3 separate regions of the Homo sapiens genome follow, and regions 2 and 3 are each linked to region 1. The links are contacts of gene promoters, found by promoter capture Hi-C in blood cells and fetal thymus (Javierre and others, 2016). All regions are on one chromosome and are shown on one strand. Each heading gives the region's core, a stretch centred on a gene start or on the middle of the fragment in contact. The rest is flanking DNA. Distances are from core to core; before and after follow the strand shown. Region 1 holds the start of AVEN (apoptosis and caspase activation inhibitor). Region 2 has its middle 26 kb from the start of GOLGA8B. Region 3 has its middle 8.6 kb from the start of GOLGA8B.

What was found. The method cuts DNA at HindIII sites, captures the fragments that hold promoters and counts their contacts. A CHiCAGO score of 5 or more calls a contact.
Region 2: a fragment that was not itself captured here is called in contact with the fragment with the promoter of AVEN in region 1 in 2 of 17 cell types (total CD4 T cells and naive CD8 T cells); the score reaches 5.5 in total CD4 T cells.
Region 3: a contact is called between a fragment that was not itself captured here and the fragment with the promoter of AVEN in region 1, in 9 of 17 cell types (fetal thymus, activated CD4 T cells, total CD8 T cells and 6 more). The highest score is 11.2, in fetal thymus.

What each region holds. Positions count from the first base shown.
Region 1 is chr15:34,036,852-34,041,907 of GRCh38, reverse strand. AVEN (apoptosis and caspase activation inhibitor) reads left to right here and starts at 2,704. Exons shown (of 6, transcript NM_020371.3): 1 at 2,704-3,128. The coding sequence starts at 2,862. All of the region lies in intron 1 of CHRM5 (cholinergic receptor muscarinic 5), which reads right to left. RefSeq lists silencers at 2,612-2,781, 2,962-3,171, 3,262-3,321, 3,672-3,731. The HindIII fragment of the contact is 8,272 bases long and covers 1-4,488 here.
Region 2 is chr15:34,607,557-34,612,612 of GRCh38, reverse strand. No RefSeq gene overlaps it. Among named protein-coding and RNA genes, the nearest start is that of GOLGA8B, 26 kb to the right of the region's middle. The HindIII fragment of the contact is 1,108 bases long and covers 1,362-2,469 here.
Region 3 is chr15:34,589,713-34,594,768 of GRCh38, reverse strand. No RefSeq gene overlaps it. Among named protein-coding and RNA genes, the nearest start is that of GOLGA8B, 8.6 kb to the right of the region's middle. The HindIII fragment of the contact is 8,309 bases long and covers 1-5,056 here.

The DNA.
Region 1 (5,056 bases), core at 1,455-3,954:
GGCATCTGCAGAATAGACTTACAGGCATGGATTCTGGAATTAGACTGTACTGGTATAAATCCCAGTTCTGTTACTTACTAGCTTGAGCAAATTATTTAACTTTTTTGCAACTCAGTTTTCTTATCTGTAAAATAGGAATAATAATAGTGTTTATTTCATAGGGATATTTTGAAGATTTAATGAGTTAGTACGTGGAAAGTGCTTAGAATAGTATCAGGTGCAAAATAAGTGTTAAAAAAACTTGGCATCATCCACAAACCAATCTCTCTCTAAAATGGCATACCTTTCAAAAGTGTTACTGAGTCTTACACTGACTAGTTGAAAGTATCAAGCATAGTGAATGTGCCCTAATAACACTGGCTTAATCTGCAAGCCACTGATCTTTTCAACCTCATAATTTTGGAGGCTTCTCAAGGGATAGTTATATAGTTCCTTAAAGCCCTATTTCCCACTGGTCTCGTCTCTCACTACATTGGAGATGTACATATTAATCTCATACCAGACATTTGCCCAAATCAGGGTTTCTCAATGTTGGCAAATTTAAGGCTGGATAAATTTTTGGATAAATTACATCGGTAGCTCCTTAGATACTAAAACGTACCTTTTGCACCAATCTATCTGTGCTAGTGGTTCTCATCCAGGGTGATTGCCTCTCAGGGAACATTTGGCAATGTCTGGAGATGTTTTTGGTTGTCTTAATGAGGGGGAGAGGGGTTCATTCTGGCATCTAGTGGGTAGAGGCCAGGGATGCTATTAAATATTCTACAATGCACAGGATAAGCTACCGCCACAAAATGTTACCCAGCCCTAAATTTGCCAACATTGAGAAACTCCGATTTGTGCAAATGTCTAGTTTGAGATTAATGTGTGGATCTTCAACTTGGTGAGAGGCCAGACCAGTGATATGCTGGTAGATATTTAACCATATTCTTCCATGCCCCTTCCCCACTGCTATGGTCTAAATGTTCATCTCCCTCAAAATTCATGTTGAAATCTTTTTTTTTTTTTTAGACAGTCTCCTTCTGTTGCCCATGTACAATCACAGCTCACTACAGCCTCAACCTCCTGGGCTCAAATGATTCTCTATCTTAGCCTCCCAAGTAGTGGGACTATAGGCATATACCACCATGCCCAGCTAATTTTTGTAGAAATGGGGTTTCACCATGTTGCCCAGGCTGATCTTGAACTCATGTCTCAGGCAATCCACCCGCCACAGCCTCCCAAAATGCTGGGATTACAGGCACGAACCACACACCTGGCCTGTAACTGTGTAATCTTGGAAGTTACTTAACATCTGTTTTAGATTCCTGATCTGTAAAATGGAGACAACACTAGCTTACCTCGTAGGCCAGCTATTAGTCCCAAATGAAGTGATATGAGAAGTATGTAGAATAGTGTTTGGTGCATATAAGTGCTCTACAAGTGTTACTATTTTTAAGACTGTTTCTCTGGAGTTGACAATCCTTCAATAGTTCCCCCTGTCTGGAAGGCGCCCCTACTCCCATTTACCAACCAGGCAAACTCCTACTCAACCATTAGGCTTTAGCTCAGGGGTCTATTTCTCATGAAGCCTTGGGTAACCCGTTTAAATATAATTTAACTTTTCTTCTTTGGACCTTGATCTTGAATCTCTCACTGCACTCAGCAACACGGTACTGTAATCATCTATTCACACGACTAGATTATCTTCCTTGTGGGCAGTGAGCTACTTGAGGGCAGGGGCAAGGTTTTTTTTTTGTTTTTGTTTTTAATTTCAGGACATAGCACTGTGCCTGATGCAGAGTAGGCAATTAGAAGCAATGAAAAGTATTAACTATGTATGGATATAGGAAAGAACCAGAAAGTACTGAGGGGGAAGAAAACACTTATTCTGCTAGGCTGACATTTTAGCCCTTGCTTTCATTATTTTCAGGTGGTTTCAGTCCCAAGTTAAAAACTGCTTTCATGCATCTGTGTAACCAACTGTTCCCCTTCCTGTTTTCTCCTTGGTTGAAAGAAGGGACTGGAGTGAGACCGCCTTAGAATGCCAGTTCCACCACTACCTAGTTATTCACTTTAGTCAAGTTTTTTTTAACCTTTCCAAGGCTGTTACCTCACTGCAGAATAAGGATGACAGTCATCCCTACCTCATAGAGCTGTTATGAGAATGAAATACTCATGTGCTCAATAAATGTCAGCTGTAGTAGTCATTTCTACAGAAATTCTGCTGAGGACTTTGACGCCCTTTCTAGCCATCTCCCAGTTTCGCACTGTTCTCTCTCCCACGTGCTGCAGTCCACCTCTCACCAGACACAAACTCTTGTCTTTACATCCACACCTCCTGAACCCTGACTTCGGTATAGTTTTAAAATGATACACATTCGTTGCTGAAAATTAGATTAAACGGAGGAAAAAAAATTAACTCACTTCAAATCTCAGCAGTTAACCACTAACATTTTAGTATGTATTTGTTTAGACCTTTTCTTATGCAAATACATACGTTTAAACTTTTTTTTTCCGAGAGTTCACATCATACAAATTTTATTTTATGACTCGTCCTTGCACTTAGCACGGTCTCTCCCCCAACCTATCTCTGATGCCTTGAGAATCCCCCCGCCCCGCTGCAGACCCCCACCACTTCCAGCTCCCAGCGGTCCGGCCTTCCCGCGGTCCCGGTTCCGGCCCCACCTGCGGGACGCCGGCCGCCCCGCCCCGCCCCGCTCCGCTGCGGCCGGCCTCGATCCCTAGCCCCGCACCCCGCGCCTCGCTGCTACCGGGCGCCTTTCGCTCGCGGCTCCTCCGTGCGGCCCGCTTCCGGTGGGGCCAGGGCGTCTCCGCCGCAGCTCGGCTCCCGCGCGCTCAGCACCGCCAGCGGCGGCCAGATGCAGGCGGAGCGAGGAGCTCGGGGAGGCCGTGGGCGGCGGCCAGGCCGCGGCCGGCCTGGCGGAGATCGCCACAGCGAGCGGCCCGGAGCCGCAGCGGCGGTAGCCAGAGGCGGCGGCGGAGGCGGCGGCGGGGACGGAGGCGGACGCCGGGGCCGTGGCCGTGGCCGGGGCTTCCGCGGCGCTCGCGGAGGCCGAGGAGGAGGAGGCGCCCCGCGAGGCAGCCGCCGGGAGCCGGGAGGCTGGGGCGCAGGGGCCAGCGCGCCGGTAAGAGGCGACGGCTGGTGGGGCTGGGACCGCGTGTAACTGGGGCAAGTGGGGCCGAGGCCGCCAGTCAAGAGCCGCAAGAGAGCGTGCCAGGCGCGCGCCAGACGGGCGGCGGCGCCGGCGCCTGCGCGGGACGGGCGGATGGTGGCGCGGGGGCGCGCCTGGTGGCGGGGGCGCGCCTGGGTATGCGCTTGGCCCTCGTGGCCTCCTGGCCGGGCTGGCGCGAGACAGTGGGGGTAGGAGGGCTTCCCAGCCTGCCCCAGGGTCCGGGTTAGGAACCCAGAGGCCAAGGCCGTGTGTCAGGGCTGCAAGTCTCGGCGGCCCGTGGGCCGGCTGGGCTGTCTGTACGAGTACCACTATGGGACGGAGGCGCGGCCACGACGTGGTCCCTCGGCAGCCTTTACGGGCACGCTCCTGTTATTAGGAGGGAAAGGATTTTTTGGTCTGTTTTGTTAACTGTCTGTGCAATGCCTAGTACACAGTAGGCGCATAATAAAAAGTTTGTTGAGTGAAAGAATGACCCCTACGACTGGACTCTAGTATTTGGGGGCGGGACCAGATGCATAGTTCTTTGTAATAGCGTAGTTCTCTTTTATTATGCCTGTATGTGTAGAAATCAGCGAGCACTGGGCTTTGTCGTTTTGAATTTTCAATTTATAAATGAGCAGTCAAGTTCTGAGTTTTAATAGCAATATCATCAGTCTTATTGACACATTCATAGAAGGAAGTTTTTGGAGATTGGAGCAGGGGATGATATATATGGGGGCAAAGCTAACCATATCTCAGCTAAAGGAGTTAGAGGACTGTCTTTTTATGAGTTGTTCTGTTACCTTAACATCTGTAGGACAAGACCATCTTTATATTCTGCATTCTTATGCACACTGATTTAAAAAATTCTTTTTTGCATGAGGCAAAATTTGCTCTTACTGAAGTATTTACAATATCTTGAGGGCATAGCAGATAAGATATCCCTAAAGAGAGTAGTTGTATACAGCAATACAGAGCTGGAAAAAAAAGTATAAAACTTAAATTTAAATGTAACAAACTTAAATCTTGTTAGGATTAAGATAGGTAATAGGCAAAACTTGAATGAGATATAAAAACATTTTTAGGGTCAGTTTACCTCGTGTAAACTGACAGAAACTAAGGTAAATGACAGAAACTAAGACCAACCTAGTGCCCACTATATATCACATTTTGTTCTTATAACTCTATTATATATATATAATATATATGTAATGTAGAATTATGTAATATAATAGTATGTAATTATATATTAACTACAATGTTATATATTATTTATATATCCATATATAGAGAGTAATCTTTATTTTTACAGGTTAACTGACTTGCCTAAGCTTTCACAGCTAGTGGCAGAGCTGGGATTTATATCAAGCTGCCCTTGAGTCAACAGTATTTTATCTCTTACTTTTTCGTGAACCAGTTACCACTTTATTGAGAACAAAGTAGATATTCCTTAGCTGCAGGGATCGTGCTTTAAGAGTAATTGTAGTAATGGTACATTTGGTGTTAACTATGGTGTCTGGCGCACAGGACTTTACTAATAAGTGTCTTTAAGTTGAATTGAGTGAGTGAAGGTGCTTCTGTTTTGTTAATCTCTGTTGAATTAAATTGGGTGAAATGATGGTATATATTTTTTTTTTTTTTTTGAGACGGAGTTTTACTCTTGTTGCCCAGGCTGGAGTGCAATGGCATGATCTTGGCTTGCTGCAACCTCCGCCTCCCGGGTTCAAGTGATTCTCCTGCCTCAGCCTCCCAAGTAGCTGGGATTACAGGCATGAGCCACCTTGCCCGGCTAATTTTGTATTTTTAATAGAGATGGGGTTTCACCATGTTGGTCAGGCTGGTCTCGAACTCCTGACCTCAGGTGATCCACCCGCCTCGGCCTCCCAAGGTGCTGGGATATG
Region 2 (5,056 bases), core at 666-3,165, 570 kb before region 1:
AATATTGCTTAACATGATTGATCTTCCATTTGACTGACCTGCATTTACACCCATGCCTATTTTGTGTAGGTGATCAATTCATTTGTCAAGAGTGCTTTTATAATTATGCATGAAAATGCACAACAGATTGTCATTCCTCAAAAATGCTACTATTATCACCTGTAATTAAGTCTACCAAATTTACACTAGAAAAAAAAAACACAGAGAGAACAATGGGTAGTTGTTAGATCATTTAGCAACCAGAGGTAAAAATTAGTAGCAGAAACAAAATTGTTGTTATTTCTCAAATTATTTTTCAAAGGACGTTGTTGCCTTATTAACTAATATTTGATTGGGGTCATTTACAACCATTAATCTAGAAAAGAAATTCTTTTACTGCAATGTGCCTCCTCTATGTACGTGTGTGAATGAGTGTCTGTCCATTTTCTTTATTTAAAGTTCCAAGTTACTTATTCATTCATTAGGTAATCTTTTCACATGGAACAAAATTTTTGTGGTAATTTATGATAATTGAAAAAAAAAGATTTGGCGTGATTATAAACCTATTTAGATATTTCTGCCTGCATCTATATCATATCAAAAAAAGTAAAATCTGTTGATTCTCACAACTTACTAGCCAAGTCTTAGATGCTGGTTGAAAATGAAGATACCTGGGTTAGTTCCCAAAAACTGTGATTAATTTGGTTGGGAGTAGGAGCTAGAAGTCTATTCTTAAGAAACTGTAGTGAATCTGATATTAGTTGGTGTGGGAAACAGGCTTAGAGAAATATCGATCTATTGCAAAAGGCGCACTTCTCTTTGGACACCTGAAAAAAACAGCATGCATTAAATGCATTAAAACTCTATTAAGGATACTTCCATAAAATGGTTCCAAAAATATATTGATATAGCATATAAGATTTTGATAATTTTCAGGGTAATGCTGATAATGTTTTTAAATAAATCAGTTCATTTGTTTTGGCTTTTCCTTCTCCCTGTTTCTTGCTAAATATTGTAGATCTGCCACCTTTTAAAAAATAGATGACACTTCCACTTCCCACTCCCACTAATATACTTACAGCTCGTCTTCAGTGAAAATTCTATTGAATGTTCTTGTGCTCCAACAGAAAGGAAAAACACAGTAGCACTTTATTACTTAATGTTGGAGAAGTTACTCACCTTGTCTGAAATTTATTTCCTGTCCTGTAAAATTGTGCTAATACAGTACAGTGTTATTTTAAGGATCAAATTTAAAAATGCATGTGAAAGGTCTTTCGAAAATAAAGAGGTGTTGTAAGAATGTGAGGCATCACCCCCCCGCCATGCATTCATTTGAATCATGCCATTTAAGAATTTTTTTATTGTGTTAAAGTAAAAAAGCTTTTAAAAATGAATTAAACCAAAGTAAAGTTGAATTAAATTAAAAATTAACACTATCAAAACCCTATTCTGCTATTCTATGAAAAAATAAATTCACTAAACAAAAAATATACTGCATTTGGCCAGGTGTGGTGGCTCATGACTGTAATCCTACCACTTTGGGAGGCCGAAGCGGGTGGATTGTCTGAGCTCAGGAGTTCGAGACCAGCCTGGGCAACATGGTGAAACCCAGTCTCTACTAAAACACAAAAAATTAGCCGGGCGTGGTGGCGGGCGCCTGTAGTCCCAGCCACTCGGGAAGCTGAGGCACAAGAATTGCTTGAATCCAGGAGGTGGAGGTTGCAGTGAGCTGAGATCACACCACTGCACTCCAGTCTGGGTGACAGAGACAAGACTTGGTCTCCAAAAAATTTAAAAAAAAAAAGTATTGCATTGTTGAAGGTTCACACAGAACAAAACATGCTGTTTAAATTTTTCCACTTATTTGTAAAAAGGAGAATCTTAGTCCACTGCTGAAGAAGAACATTTTCATGAATGTTTTGCTTGAGCTTGCAAAGCTAAACAAACCTCTGGTACTTTATATAAGAGAGATATTCTTAGAAGCCTCTGCCACCTAGTGTACAAAGGCCATCCTAGAAATCTGAATGACTTGGTTTAATTGCCTTATCTGCTACATCTTGTCTTCAGAGAATTATCTTTAAGTATATCTAGGTCAGATTTGAAGTTATAATTTGAGGTGGGAATAACACACACTGCATTTTCTAAAGAGCATCTGGCATGAGAATCAATACATTTCATTTTCATTTTAGCAGCACTTTAAAGTCCCATTTATAAATGTTTTAATAAGGCAGTAAGAGACTCCTGGGTGTGTTTTAGTCTTTCATTAATATATACCTCTTGTGTGTTGCAAGATACATGCTTACTGAATAAGCCTTTGACCATTCAAAGTCAAATTAATGATCCAATAAAGCAAAGCCCATGGTATCTTAATGGCAGCAAAATACACTCTTTAATTTAGAAGATAAAATATTATATTATATTTTCCTCTCCAACAACTCGTAAGTATATGCATAAAAGAAGTATCAAGGGATTCAAAGAAATAGCGAAGCTTCTTTAGCCATATTTTTACACACAACATGTCTCCCCACCTCTCATTTTTAGCTTTAGATTTAATTATTTCCAGCTCAGTTTTACAGAGGAGTGGAAGGTGGAACTTGAGGGTTGGCAGTGGAGGGGTTTGTAAAGCTATACTCTTTAAAAATGTGTTTAAAAGTAAAACGTCAACCACACCGCTTCCTCTTTCCGTCCTGTCATTGTTTTCAAGGCACCCACTCCCCTGCCCAGTTTGCTAAAGGCAGAGGGAGATGTGTGAAGGTTATGTTCTGCCGTGTGGTTCAGAGAAGCAAAATTTTCCCGCAGCTCTAAATCAGTTCACAATGAACTAGATCTCAGCAATGAGCTTTCGCTGTCTGCTCATTCTGCTACCTGACATTCGTGAGAGGAACCAGATGGCCCTCATGTCAATCTGGCCTGCCAGGTTTGGTACTGAGATTTCATCTCCTTCCCTTCAGCTGCCTGAGCCTGAGTGAAGTTCACATGCACACATCTCCAGTAAAATCTCACTGTAATGTGCAGGTCTTTCTTGCACTTTTGCCCTGCCAAACCTGCCTCTCTTAGGGACTCAAGACGGCATAATGCCTTGTTATTTTAATGTGCTCTGCAATGATTGAACTGTTCTCAGGAGATCATTTTTGCACATCAAAACCCATTAAAATTAGCAAGAATTGTCGGGAAATGAGCAAATAAAAAAGAATAATTCATCTCTCTCTCTCTCTGTTTTAAATTCGCCAAGCCTCCTTTTGATGGCTAAAAGCAACTGGTAGCAGAAAGCATGCATCAGTTTAAAAAAAAATTAGCTTTAAGCAAAAGATGTCAAGAAATTCTTCCAAATTATGTGTTATGATAGCAAGCTGGTGAGCACTGGGATAAAAACCCATGTCATAATTGTAGAGGATGTGCTAAGACGTCGGGGGAGCAAAATCCATGAGTGAGTACAGATGATACCTATAGCAGTACTACTGCATCTTTCTGGGGAAAACATGCAGCAAACATCCTGATCAGAGACTAACAGGCCCTCACAAGAGTGACCTTTTTTTAAAATTGAGAATAATTTTTATTGTTAAGAAAGCATAACCAGCAATAAAAGTACTATTTTTGGTTCTAAATGATAGAAAACCAAATATATTTTGTTCATGGTACAAGGAAGCCTAAGGTCAAGTTGATTACAGAAGCAACTAGTTCCAGATATTCAATAAGATCTTCATCTCTCTTCTGTTTCTGTTGTATTTCTATCTGGGCATCTGTCTCCTTTTCTCCGTGTATCTTTGCCCCTGTATAGTTCTTTCTGCATATCTCTCTGCATTTTCTGTCTCTGTCCCCCTGTTGTGTCTCTTTCACTGCAGTGCCTTTCTATTTTTCTAATTTATTGTCACTATTTATCTGCATTTTTCTATCTCTGTGTTTCTTTATGCATATCTCTATTTTTCTGCATTTCTCTTCCTTATCACCTCATATCTTTTCTCATCTCTCTCCCTCTGTGTGTGTGTGTGTATGTGTTTGTGTGTGTGTGTCTGTCTCTGTTACATATGTTTCTAGAATGTCTACCAGAGACAATTTAACAATTTTAGGAAATTTAATTTAACAATTAATTTAAAACTTAATTTAACAATCTAACAATTATTAAACTTAATTTAACAATCTTAGGAAAGATTCTGATTGGCCAAGCCTGGGTAACATGCACACCTTTTAAACACACCATCCTGTGTATGGAACACTGACAGCCAGCATTGTGGAGAGTAACTTTTTCTAAATAGTGAAATTTATGGTAAGAAATAACATTTATATCACAAACCAATACATACACACATACATACATATGACCAGGTACAGACATGTGTATGTCTGTATGTGTATAAAATCAAATGGAAAATTTCACAAAAATAATACTTAACTATGAGTGATATATTCCTCTTTTTGTATTAAAATATAAACATTCTCTCTAAAATGAGATGTAAATTGATTTCATCACCCTCTAATGGGCTACAACTTCACAGTCTGAAAATCACTTTTTAAACTATCTTCATTTTAGAAATTTTATGAACAGTGTGAATCATTTAATTAACATCTCAATGCTTATAGTACTAAAATGATTTCTCACCAATAATATAAAATGATGTAATCATTTAGTTAATGACAAGTTTTGGTTTCCATCATAATTACTAAAAGTTAAGCAACCCATCATCAAATAGTTTGAGTTCTGGGTACTTGCAAGATATTATTTTGACTATTTTTAAAACATCTGCTTGGTAAGAAGGAAGCAAAAGCACCATCATCTATTGCTTTTCTACTATATTCTTTACTCTTACTTTTGTGTTAATTAGTCCCTTTAATCTTTGTAAAAATCCAGTCAGAGAAAAGTATTAGTATAAATATTATTATCTTCTTTTTATGAATGAGGATTCTGAGAACCAATGACGCTCAGGTAACTTATTTAAAACATTCATTTCTCAAGTAGAAGAGACAGAATGAGTCCATGCCTTTTGATTGCAACTCCAAGGTTCTTTCTTTAATATTATGCTAATACTCAGTACTACATGCTATGTCTTTTGATAACTTAAATATTGCTCTATAAGATCTG
Region 3 (5,056 bases), core at 1,538-4,037, 550 kb before region 1:
ATTTTTTTCCCAATGCAAAAAAAAATGCATTGCTACAGTTTGAATGTTTATGTCTCCCCAATATTCATTTGTTGAAGCCCTAATCCCCAAACTGATGGACTTAAAGGAGGACTTAGGGAAGTAATTAGGGTTAGATTAGGTCATGAGAGTGTGTCCCTCGTGATGGGATTAATGTCCTTATAAAAAGAGGAAGAAATTAGACATCAATCTGTCGTGCCCATGTTAGGATACGGCAAGAAGGCAGCCTTCTGCAAACCAGGAAGAAGGCCCTCACTACAGACTAAACATGTCAGCACCCTGTTCTTGGACTGCCCTGCTTCCAAAACTGTGAGAAATAAACATTTGTTGTTTTAAGTCACCCAGTCAATGATACTTTGTTATAGCAGGCCAAGTAGTCTAAGGCATGCATTTTTATTGGAAAGAATTGAAACGTACAAATACAGATTAGAAATTATAGCTTTAAAAAAAAGCTCTCACCCTCAGGAGATAAAAATGGTTAAAATTAGCTGGTAAATTCTTCAGTGTTCCTTTTATGCATAAATATATGCATGCTTATTATATAAAGAGGATCATATTATACATGTGATTTTAAATGTAAGTACTGTCATTTAATTTACATTTAATTTATCATTACAAAATGATAGAATGTTAATAACATTTCTCTGTCACTTATTTAAGCCCTCTTCTGTTATTGAAAAATTACATCTCTGTTTTCCAAAATTCTACATAAATATACATGTTTATAAATATTTATTCACAGTTGATTTTTCCCCTTACAATTTCTTGAAACAGAATTGCTGGATGAGATGATGCCAATATGTGTAAGCCATTTGATACATAGGCAAAACTGTCTTACAAAAATGTCTTGCCTCTTTACATCCCAATCAGCAGTGTTGGAGAACTTATTTCTCCCCCTACTTTCTTTAGCGCTGAGTATATTATTTAAATGTTGACATCAAAATCAAGTGGCATTTATCCTAGGAATGCAAAGTTGGTTCATTCATAAACCAATCAATGTAATTCATCATATTAACAAATTTTAAAAACATATGATCACCTCAGATACAGAGAAAGCATTTGAAAAAATCCCAAATCTATTCATAATAAAAACTCTAAGCAGACTAAGAATCTCATAAAAGGCTCATATGAGACCACATATATGACATTGCAGCTAGAGATTAAAAACTAAATGATTTCCCCTTAAAATCAAAAGTCAGACAAAAATGTCAACTCTAAACACTTCTATTCAACATTTAGTTGATGTTCTAAATAGTTCAAAATAACAAGAAAAATTAATAAATGCTATTCAGAGTAGACAGCAAATGCAAAACTGTATTTACAGACAATATGATTGTCTACATAGAAAATCCTATAGAATCTAAAAAGGAGACATTAAAACTAATTAGAAACTTTAGCAATTTTGTAGGATCAACATAAACACATTAGTCATATTTCTATACACTACTAATGAACATTGGAAATTGAAATAAAAGTAATTGTACCATTTGCAATAGCCTCAAAAAAAAAAAAAGAGAAACACTTATGGATAAATGTAACAAAAGATGTGCCAGACCTGAGGACTGAAAACTTCAAAACATTGCTAAGAAAGAATGATGAAAACCCTAGTAAATGGAGAAGCATTTATAGATTGAAAGACCCAATATTGGCCGGGCACGGTGGCTCACGCCTGTAATCCCAGCACTTTGGGAGGCCGAGGTGGGCAGATCGCGAGGTCAGGAGATCGAGACCATCCTGCCTAACACGGCAAAACCCTGTCTCTACTAAAAATACGAAAAATTAGCCGGGCGTGGCGGCGGGTGCCTGTAGTCCCAGCTACTCGGGAGGCTGAGGCAGGAGAATGGCGCGAACCCGGGAGGCAGAGTTTGCAGTGAGCCGAGATCGCGCCACTGCACTCCAGCCTGGGTGACAGAGCGAGACTCCGTCTCAAAAAAAAGAAAAAATAAAACAAAAGACCCAACATTATTAAGAGATCAATTCTCCCCCAAGCAATGAAATAATCAAATGTAAAAGCAAATGAACTTCAATCCTTAATTCGCATTGTATATAACACATAATTTGAAAGGGATTTTTGACATAAATATTATAGTTTAAAGAAGAAAAATTTCCAGAATAAGATATAGGAGAAATAACCAACATGGAGAAACTCTGTCTCTACTAAAAATATAAAATTAGCTGGGCGTGGTGGCACATGCCTGTAATCCCAGCTACTCAGGAAGGCTGAGGCAGAAGAATCGCTTGAACCCGGGAGGCAGAGATTGCGGTGAGCCGAGATCGCGCCACTGCACTTCAGCCTGGGCAACAAGAGCGAAACTCGGTCTCAAAAAAAAGATTTAAAAAAAAAAAGGTATAGGAGAAATATTTATGATCATTGGTATGGTAAAAATTCTTAATCACGATATGAAAAACACAACACATACACAAAGTGAAAAGACAAGCCACAAACCTAGAGAAATGGTTTTTTAAACACATATTTAATGTATATAAAAACCTTTCAATAATCAATAAAAACCTCATTAAAAAATCAAATAGGCACTCTCAAAAAGATGTACAGGTAGCAAAAAAGCAAAGCGAGTAAGGAAGGGAGAGCAGGAGGGAAGCTCAGAGAGGTCACTGGGAACTAAGTACTGCAGGACTTATTAGGCCATCCTAAGGCTTTCAAGTTCATTCTGAGAAATACAAAAACTTTGGGGCCAGGATTGGGGTGGTTCATGCCTGTAATCCCAGCACTCTGGGAGGCCAAGGCAGGTGCATCACAAGGTCAGGAGTTCGAGACCAGCCTGACCAACATGGTGAAACCCTGTCTCTACTAAAAATACAAAAACTAGCCAGGCATGGTGGCGGGCGCCTGTAATCCCAGCTACTCAGGAGGCTGAGGCAGAAGAATCGCTTGAACCCAGGAGGCAGAGGTTGTGGTGGGCCGAGATCATACCACTGCACTCCAGCCTGGATGACAAAGCGAGACTCTGTCAAGAAAAAAGAAAGAAAAGAAAGAAAAGAAGGAAGGAAGGAAGGAACTGACTTTGAATTATTGTAGTAGAGGGTGATGGACCTGACACAGATTTCCGGTCAGGAAAGGAAGAAAGGAAGGCAGGCAGGCAGGCAGGCAGGCAGGCAGGAAGAAAATGACTTTGAATCATTGTAGCAGAGGGTGATGGACCTGAAACAGATTTCCGCTTTGTTAGGAACAGATTATGCAGGGCAGGGGGAGGAGCAGAGAAGCAAGGGTGGAAGTAGGGAGAGCGGTTGGAATTAACGATGGAATCTCAGCAAAAGATTCAGAAATCCCAGAGGGAGATGATAGTGTACCACACCCGGGTGAAAGATGGCTGCATTTTGAATGTATTTAGAAGATCTGTGCAGATGGGCTGAATGCAGATTAATGTGGAATGTGGATAAGGTGAAAAGTCAAGATTGAAGACAAGATTTTGAGTCTGGGGAACAGAAAGCTGGAATTAGCATAAAAATGTGTTAATGACTGAGATCAAGGGTTTAGGAGAGAAGATCAGTTTTGTTTTGAACATCTGAAGTTTCAGATATTTATAGACATTGAGCTGAATATGCCAAGTAAGCAGTTGGATATACAAGCCTGAAATTTGTGAAAGACTGGGTTCATAAAATAAATATGTTAATCAATATCATATTGATGTATTTAAAGGCATAAGTCTGAATGATATCCTCAAGATTGCAAAGAGTACGTCAGTGGTTTTCAGCTGAAGGCAATTATTTCTCCCCAGGGTACAGCTGGCAATGTCTGAAGACATTTTTGGTTGTCACAGTTGGGGAATGAATTACTAGTGGCATCTAATAGGTAGAGGCTATTAGAGACCAGGGATGCTGCTGAACATCCTACAATGCACAGGATAGCCCCACATATAAAGAATTGTCTGACCCAAAATGTCAGCAGAGCCATGGTTTAGAAAGCCTGCTTCAAAGGGTTTCTAAGAGAAGAGAACGGAACCAGAGCCTGGGCTCTCAGGTGTACCAATATTAAAGATGGCGGAGAGAAGGGGAGAAATTAACAATGGAGGTTAGGAAAGATGACCAGTGAGAAAGAATCACAACCAAGAGAATGTGGAATCCGTGCAGCCACGAGAAGAAATGTACCAAACAACAGGGAGAAATAAAAAGTGTCAAATGCTGCTGCTAGGCCAAATAAAAAGATACTCAAGTAACCACCACTGGGCTTAGCAATGCAGAGGTCACTGGTGACATTAAACAAAGAAGTTTCGGTAGAGCAGTGTGAGGTGAAAGCAACTTCCGAATGTTCGGCAACATACGATACATTTTCTGATCTGGTTATTGCCAACCTTTGAATTCAAAAATTAAACTAAAAATCATATATGGCTATAACCATAGCATAGTGAATCAGCTACTCTCTGACATCCTAATCAAATAGGTAATTTTAAGTGGGATGACTTTTTCCTGCTTTATTCCTCCCACTCCCCAGTTTACAACTTGTTAAATCGACTGGAATAAAATTAATATCTACCCAGAGACACAGGACTTTTTACTCAGATGAAGAATATTTTTCAAATAATTCTTTTGATACCAATTTTTTTAATCTTCAAACTTAAAAAAGACAATCTCAAATAAAATTATACTATATTTTGAATAGATGAACACTAAACTATTTTTTATATATACTTTAAGTTCTAGGGTACATGTGCACAACGTGCAGATTTGTTACATATGTATACATGTGCCATGTTGGTTAGCTGCACCTATTAACTCGTCATTTACATTAGGTATTTCTCCTAATGCTATCCCTCCCCCATCCCCTCACCCCACGACAGGCCCCGGTGGATGAACACTAAACTTTTTAACTATCAGGATTGTCCATTTTATATCCTTACTTTTAGTGGCTTAAATAAACCTCATTTTCTTTTATGGCAGTACATGTTTCTCACCTCTGTTCACAGAGTTTCTAATCTGTCTCTGATTTAATATGTCTCATAGTTTCTAATATGCCTCTGCTTTAAAGTACTTCCTAAAAATTTTATCCACACTACAGACTACAACTTGTCCATCTGGGAAG